Regions from separate parts of the Homo sapiens genome. Here region 1 is linked to region 2. The links are contacts of gene promoters, found by promoter capture Hi-C in blood cells and fetal thymus (Javierre and others, 2016). All regions are on one chromosome and are shown on one strand. Each heading gives the region's core, a stretch centred on a gene start or on the middle of the fragment in contact. The rest is flanking DNA. Distances are from core to core; before and after follow the strand shown.

Evidence for each region. The method cuts DNA at HindIII sites, captures the fragments that hold promoters and counts their contacts. A CHiCAGO score of 5 or more calls a contact.
Region 1: a fragment that was not itself captured here is called in contact with the fragment with the promoter of DGCR2 in region 2 in 1 of 17 cell types (activated CD4 T cells); the score reaches 5.0 in activated CD4 T cells.

Annotation. Positions count from the first base shown.
Region 1 is chr22:19,639,953-19,644,015 of GRCh38, reverse strand. No RefSeq gene overlaps it. Among named protein-coding and RNA genes, the nearest start is that of SEPTIN5, 73 kb to the left of the region's middle. The HindIII fragment of the contact is 2,401 bases long and covers 609-3,009 here.
Region 2 is chr22:19,119,882-19,123,827 of GRCh38, reverse strand. It overlaps DGCR2 (DiGeorge syndrome critical region gene 2), which reads left to right and starts at 1,416. Exons shown (of 10, transcript NM_005137.3): 1 at 1,416-1,700. The coding sequence starts at 1,622. RefSeq lists silencers at 1,092-1,531, 1,652-1,771 and an enhancer at 1,556-2,057. The HindIII fragment of the contact is 21,190 bases long and covers 1-3,946 here.

The DNA.
Region 1 (4,063 bases), core at 560-3,059, 520 kb before region 2:
GAAGAAGCCCATAATCAGAGGCTTGCATCTGCACCATCTATGGCACTTTTTCCAAAACAAGGCTGTACCCCCACCCGCCATCACCCGCCCCACCCTGGGGGCTGATGGGAAGATCTGGATGGACTGAGGCAGGCACTTATGGTTAGAAAAGCCCTCCTGGGAAATCTGATGCATACCCCTAACTGGGAACCACCGGATTTAAGAGCCAAATGTAATAAACCAAATACAGGGGAAAAACAGGAAAATGCTCCCTTTCCCTCAAATGTGCAAGCATCGTCTAAGCATAGGAGCAAAGGTGATGCCGTGAAGATAAGAAGCCAGAGGTCTGGCCATGGAAACCCATAGACGTGCAAAGGCCATGATAACATGCTGGAAGGCATATGACAAGGGAATTGAAGAGCTTTTGCACATCAGCCAGGAAGAGGTAAACATTCCAGTACAAAAATGGGCAAATGATAAGAAAAAGCAATTCACAAAAGACAATTACAAATAGCCAAGCAACAGGCAATGAGCACTCAGCCTCAGCAGGCAGCAAACAAATATACCTAGTTTTAAAGTGAGGTTTCAGGCAGCCGTATATGGGCCTATATAAAACTTATCTCCAAGCTTCAAAATTAAGTGAAAAAGGCTGGGCGTGGTGGCTCACACCTGTAATCCCAGCACTTTGGGAGGCCAAGATGAGCGAATCCCTTGAGCCTAGGAGTTTGAGACCAGCCTGGCCAACATGGCTAAATGCCATCTCTACAAAAAATACAAAATTAGCCTGGCATGGTGGCGCCCACCTGTGGTCCCAGCTACTAGGGAGGCTGAGGTGGGAGGATCTCTTGAGCCCAGGAGGTCGAGGCTGCAGTGAGCCTGCAGTCCAGCCTGGGTGACATAATGAGACACTGTCTCACAATAAAATAAAGTGAGGTTTCATTTTTGGCCGATCACAATGGCAAAGTCTCTTTCCAAAGGGTATGTGTGGTGGCCTGTGGCCAAGGCCTGTGCCTCCAGCAGGGCCCAGAGCACTTCCAGGAGCCCCTCCTTGATCCAGGATTCTCCTCCAGTCATTTATCGTTTAGGAATTTCAATAATTGAGTACAGCCATCTTGTTCCAAGATGTTCCCAATATTATGTATACCAGGAAAGAAGAAAGAAACAAGAATATATGACTAACCACCAGAGAACAGTTAAATCCATTTCAGCATCTAATGGAATGAAGGCAGTTACTGGTAACTGTATTTTAGGAGATGATTGAATAATATGAAAAATCCTTTTAAAGGGATGAAAACAAGGATCAAAACTAAATATAGAATATTTCCACTTAAAATATGCACTTATATCTGTTTACCAAAATCCAGGAAAATTTGTTAATGCTTGAACAATGATCACTGTGGCTTGGTGGGGGCACCAGGTAATTTTAATTTTCTTCTGTATACTTTTCTATGGTTTCTGAATTTTCTGAAATTATTACACTATGACTACAGTCAGTAAAAAGTATTATTAAAAGGATCGTTGTAGTCTTTCCCCAGGGCTCCCGGTGTGCGAGCCACGTTTCCTTAGCCTGGTTGTTCTTGGCACATCTGTTCCCAAAAGGAGGTGGGCACAGCTGGTCAAGGCCAACATGGGGCCCACTTCCTCGGTCCCATTGCTCCCTTAGGAGGCAGACGGTGCTTGGTCCATGCAGTTCTGCAGTCACACCCTACACGCCTGCCACATCGGCCACAGGTAACCACGCATGGGTGCTGAAGGAAGACCTGGCACCGCTGCTGCGTGGGCACTGCAGGATGGCGTGGAGCGGGCCCAGGCGGGCCTGGACAAACCCTGCTCTTGGGCGCATCTGTGGCCTGAGAAAGGGGGCAGCAGCTGGGCTCCAAGCGGTCAGTGCCAACACCAGGACAGCCCCATGCATGGCACGCACTCTGATGTCATTAAAAACAGAGGAAGCCCGAAAGAGCCCTGCACACACGCTCACCAGTGTCTCACAGTCCTCGCCCAGGAATCCCACGGTGCCTCACAGTGGACACGCCCTTACCTGGCCAATGCTGCCCCCCTGCCCCCTCCCCCACCTCTTCTCCTTCCCTTCGTCTTCCCCTCTCACCTTTCCCTCCCTCCCCTCCTCCCTCCTCTCCTTCTCCACCTTCCCCCTCCACCCCTCTCAGACCCACTGGACTGCAGCCACCACACAGCCAGATGCTGTACTGCGTGGAGAGCAGGTACCTCCACTCCGAGGACATGCTCTAAAGTAGCAGTCCCCAACCTTCTTGGCACCAGGGACCGGTTTCGTGGAAGACAATTTTTCCACCGATGGGGTTGGGTGGGGGATAGTTTCGGGGTGAAATTGTTCCACCTCTGATCATCAGACATTAGATTCCCGGAAGGAGCGCACCACCTGGATCCCTCACATGCGCAGTTCACGATAGAGTTTGCCTCCCATGAGCATGGAATGCCCAGCTGATCCGACAGGGGGCGGAGCTCGGCGGTAAACTCGCCCACCGCACACCTCCTGCTCTGAGGCCCGTTCCTAACAGGCCACAGACCTGTACCACTCCGCAGCCCAGGGGTTGGGGACCCTGCTCTAAAGAACGGGTTTGGGGGACACCCTCTGAAGCACCGCCCCTCCTCCTTTAGAGAAGGGAAGGGTGGTTTTGTCTTCAGTGCCCTTCGCTTTTGTGGGACTTCTGGCTGGAGGTGGAACTGGTGACTTTTCATGACAACCCACCCCGCGCATGGGTGGCTCAGAGGAACCTCCCAAAGGAGCCAGTGGTATCGAGATGCAGAGGAGGAAAAGCCGTGTGATATGAATGGGCTAGGGAGGATCCGAGGATGCCGCCATGGCCCGAAGGGAAGGAGGGAGCCAGGAAGAAGATGCTTCCCTGGAAAGAGGGTGGTGGTTTTCTGTTTTATAGCAGAGATCTCAGAAAATACATGAAAATCAGTGTTTGCTTGATTAATTTTGAACAAATTGTAAAAATCAAATATATTTTCCAACTTTTGATCCATGCAGGGCTTTAAGCAGAAAAAGCTTCTCGTCATCCACAGGGCACACCTGCTTGCCCACCGACCTGCCTGCCACCTGCACTAACGCCACAGGCAGGAAAGCAAGGTCTCCATGAGACAACTGCACACAAGAGATAGTGCACTCACTACTCATAACAGCCAGGGTGCTACGAGTAGGTGGAGGCAACACAAGTGTCCATCAATGGATGAAAGGATAAACAAAATGTGTGTGTGCGGACAATGGAACATCACTCAGCCGTCAAAAGGAGGAAATTCTGGGTCGGGTGCAGTGGCTCACACCTGTTATCCCAGCACTTTGGAGGCTAAGATGGGAGAATTGCAACCTAGCGAGACCCTCTCTCAACAAAAATAAAATGCTAGCCACGCATGGTGGTGCATGCCTATAGTCCCAGCTACTGGGAAGACTGAGGCAGGAGGAGCTCTTGAGCCCAGGAGTTTGAAGCTGCAGTGAGCCATGATCCTACCATTGCACTCCAGCTTGAGTGACAGAGTGAGACCTTGCCAAAAAAAAAAAAAAAAAAAAAAAAAAGAAAGAAGGAATTGTGACACATGTTACAACAGGGATGAACTCTGAGGTCATTATGCTCAGTGAAATAAACCAGTCACAGAAAGACAAATACAAATACTGCATGGTTCCACTTACATGAGGTACCCTAGAGGAGTCAAATCCACGGAGACAGAAATAGAATGGTAGGCGCCAGGGGCAAGGGGAGGAGAATGGGGATGGGGAATGAGTGCTTCATGGGGATAGTTTGTGGTGGGAAGCTGAAGAGTCCTGGAGCCAGATGGTGGAGACGGTTGAAAAGTCCTGGAGACGGATGGTGGAGATGGTGGCACAATCTGTGGATGTGCTTAGTGCCACCCAATTGGTTCAAATGGCCAATGTTGTGTTATATGTATTTTACCACAATCTAAACAATTATTTGAAGTAAAAAATGGAACGTAAATGTGTGTCCTTTTTCTGAGGTGAAGTAGAGCAGCGCCATGCATGTGAGGTTACGGGAGAGCTGGGGTGGCAACAGGGGCCTGGCTACAGATACTAACGCTCTCTGGGCTCTTT
Region 2 (3,946 bases), core at 167-2,666:
CTGCCTCCCCGGTTCAAGCGATTCTCCTGCCATCAGCCTCCTGAGTAGCTGGGATTACAGGCGTGTGCCACCACGCCTGGGTAACTTTTGTATTTTTAGTAGAGATGTGGTTTCACCATGTTGGCCAGGCTGATCTTGAACTCCTGACCTCAGGTGATCCGCCCGCCTTGGCCTCCCAAAGTGCTGGGATGACAGGCGTGAGCCACCACACCCGGCAGAGTCTGGCACTTTTTAATAAGAAACATTAACAGTCTTTTCTCTGTGAAGCCTGATACCTGGAGGCTTCATTTGCCTAAGAAACTTGGTCTCCACAACCCCTTAATGTAGACAGTCCCTTTTATTGATTCCAGGTCTTTAGATAAACTCTTTGAACCAACTGCCAATCCGCATGACCTAGAAGCCCCCCTCCACCCCCCACTTTCAAGTTGTCCCGCCTTTTCCGACTGAACCAATGTATATCTTACATGTGCTGATTGATGTCTTGTCTCCCTAAAATGTATAAAACCAAGCTGTGGCCCTACCCCCTTGGGCACTTGTCAGGATCTCCTGGGGCTGTGTCCCAGGCTATTGGTCACATATTGGCTCAGAAGAAATGTCTTCAAATATTTTACAGAGTTGGACTCTTCGCCGACACTGCCCTCCAAGGTTCACCCTGTTGGTGATGACGGGAGAAGTGGCACTTGGAGCACTGTTCGCAGGGGCGCTGAGCCTCCTCTCTGCCTAGCTTTCTTTCCTGCACATGTGGCCTTCCCCTAGCCATTGTGTAGGCAGGTCCTCCAGGGAGCCGGCTTCGCTGCAGTCTCCAGGACCTGGCCTTCCCGGTCTCTCTTTGCCTGACACTCTCTTAGGCCATTCCTGTTCCTCTTTCCCCACCCTCAGAACCGGCAGGCCCTCCCTCCTCCACAGCGGTTCGGCCTTAAAAAGACCCCTTTGGGGCGCACTTTTGGGCTGCTCACGGGACCTGAGCTTGCAGGTGTGAAGACCCTTGGAGTCCCAGCCAGGTTCCCACTTCGTTCTCTCCGCTCCCCACCCGCGCGACCCCTCGGCGCCCCGCCCCATGCCCCGCGCCTTTCGATGTCCATCCTTGCCGTCCCGCGCCCGCCGTCCCTAACCGGCGTCCAGAGACCCTACTCCCTTCGGTGGCCCCGCCGCTCAGGCCCCGGCCCCGGCCCTGCCTCTCTGCTTAACCAATGGCACGCCTCACTCCGTATGGTCCCGCCCTTCCCTTAGAGCCCGCCCCTCAGTCCCCGCCCTTAGGTCCCCGCCCTCCGCCGTCGCGACCTTAGGCCTCACCCTCTTCGGAGGGCTTTGGCTCTGGCCCCGCCCCCCATCTTGACGGTCATTGGCCCGCGCCTGCGTCGCGGGCGGGAGGCGGGGCGGGGCGGCGCGGCGCGGAGCCGAGCAGGACGGCCGCCATCTTGCGCGCAGCTGGAGTCGGTGCCTGAGGTTGCAGCCGAGAGTGTGCGCCAGCCCGCGGCCCAGCCGAAGCTCTTTCCCGCCGCCTCTCCGCGCCTCGCCCAGGTTCAGCTCCGCCTGACCCTCCGCTTGGCACGGTCCCCTGACCCTCAGTCCGGCCTGGTCCGGCCTTCCAGCCGCCCCGGGGACGATGAACGGAGGATAAATGGTGCCCAAGGCAGACAGCGGCGCCTTCCTGCTGCTCTTCCTGCTCGTGCTCACTGTCACCGAGCCGCTGCGGCCAGGTGCGCCGCGCGATGGGGGCGGTGTGGGGGCTGGGCGGCGAGCGGGGCCGGGGTCGCCCCGGGACCTCCTTTCACCCGCGGCGCCCTCCTGCAGGGGCCGCGCCTGGGGCAGGGGCGGGCGGGGCCTGGCTCGCGGGCCGCCTGGCACTCTCTGCGGACGCCTGCTGGAGCTTACCTGGGCTCGCGGCGCCTCGGACTTCGTGCAGCTCTGCTGTCCAGGATGTTGCCTCTGGGCCCTTCCCGGGAGCGGCGGCGGCCAGGAGCTACGCCACGGGCGCACCCTCTCGCCAGTCCAGCGTCGGAGTCGGGCTGGGGACAGTGGCTCTCAGGGGCACCTGGTTTCACAGACGTCCTCCCAGCAGTGGCCTAGTGCCAGCCTCTCAGTCCTGGAAACTCCTCGCCTGGACAGCGGTGGTTGTGGCTGTCATTCAGTGAGACGTTGCGCTAAGGAAGTCCTCAGGTCCCACCGGGCCTAGAGGAGGCACCAGGAGTCAGCCTAGCGTTGTGTGGCCGGCGCGAGCGTCCCGGGAGCAGAGACCTCGCCACTGTGCGGGGCCCTTAGCCGTGCTGCGTGTATGTGATGAATGAGTCCGTGCTTTGGAACTCCCCTCGGAGCTAGTGTGTTCTTAAGTCTGTGGTGGGGAATCAGAACCGTGGCAACCAGGAGACCCTTTTCTACCTATTTCGGTGTACCTCCCCTTGAACTGCACCAAAAAATCAAACTCCCTAAATGCAGGGCCGATGTATCCATCAGGCACAGGAATCCTGGTATCACTTGCCCACGGTACTTTTAGTAGCCTTCGAATGTTATTTTATTTTTTTTTAAAGTCAGCAGAAAAAAAATGAACTTTTAGGTCAAATAAAATGTTTTCGTATGTATATTAATACAGTCATCTTTATACTAATACAGTGAAAAAGCATGACTCTTAATATTTCTTAATGGAGGAAAGGTCCCATGAAGGCAGAAGTGCCAGGGCCATCTTCTCTGATGACCTGGGTGTGGGAGCACGGGGTGTGTGGCCCTCTCCTGTGCCCTAGCCAGGCTCCCAGCCCAGATACACCGCACCTCTTGGCTCTGCGCTTGTGTCATCTATGTGGAATGTCTGCCTCCTCCCTAGTGCCTGCCTGGTGGCCAAGGCCCTGACCGGTGCTCAACCTGGACAGATTCAGTGATGCTTCTCTGGTCTCCCCATGTAGAGCTAGTTGCTCACTGCTTTTGGCTGCTCTCTGGGCAGCGGGATGACTAGTTGTGGGGTGGCCTTGGTAAGAACAGAAGCCAGGAAAAGGGCTACCTGTGGAGGAGGGTATCATATAGGCTCTTGGAGGTCAGAACCAATGGGTTTGTGGATTCTTGTGATTAACTTCTTTAGAAAACATATATGTACGTGTAGAGAGGTAGAAGGTCACCGTTTTCTGATTCTTGAGTCCCAGTTTTGCAGATGAGGTCACCGGGCTCAGGTGAGGCCATATTATGCCTGGCTTCTTTGGGGTGCCTCTGGTTCCAGGCCCAGCATCTCCTGCCTGGGTGATAGAGGTGACTGACGTCCCCGACTCCTTTTTCCTTGCCAGCCTTTTCACATAGCCTGCCAACTGGCCAGCAGCAACTGAGAAAGTGCCTGTGGGTGCTTGCCCCCTGCCCATCCCTAGGGAATCCAAGTGACAAGAACAAGCCCCTCCTTTTAGGAGTGCCTGATGTGGAACAGAGGCCAGGTGTAAGTCACTTGTCACACTCCTGTGTGTTGAATACCCTGGAGTGTGGGGTCCCAGAGGTGGGTGGAGGTGGCCATCTTTTTGTACCTGTGAAGCAGTGAGGGCGTCACAGGAGACCTCACACTGAGGTCGGAGTAGGGCATGGGTGGGGTGGATCTGGTAGAGGGAGCAAACTTATTCTTTCGATTCCATGACTCTCCAGATGAGAACATTGCAGCTACCCCTGGAGGCGTCTTGAGTTGCCCTGCAGAACCCGGGAGCTGCAGCTGGCTTCCTGGCTTTGGCTGGGCAGGGAGGGCAGGCCTCTGGGCCTGATGTGTTCCTTGTATGCCCGTGTGTGCCTCTTCACACATTCACCATGTGTCCTTCCTGAGAGTGCTGCAGGGATCTGCCTGGCTGGTGCTTGCAAGAGGCTGGGGCTTCTCTGGTCTTAGTCTGCGTTCTTTCTGTGGGGATTCCGGCCTTAAAAGCATACTTGAGTATGAGGAAGGTATCAGTCAGAGCCCACTTCTCAGGAGGGTGTTTTCTGACTCCTG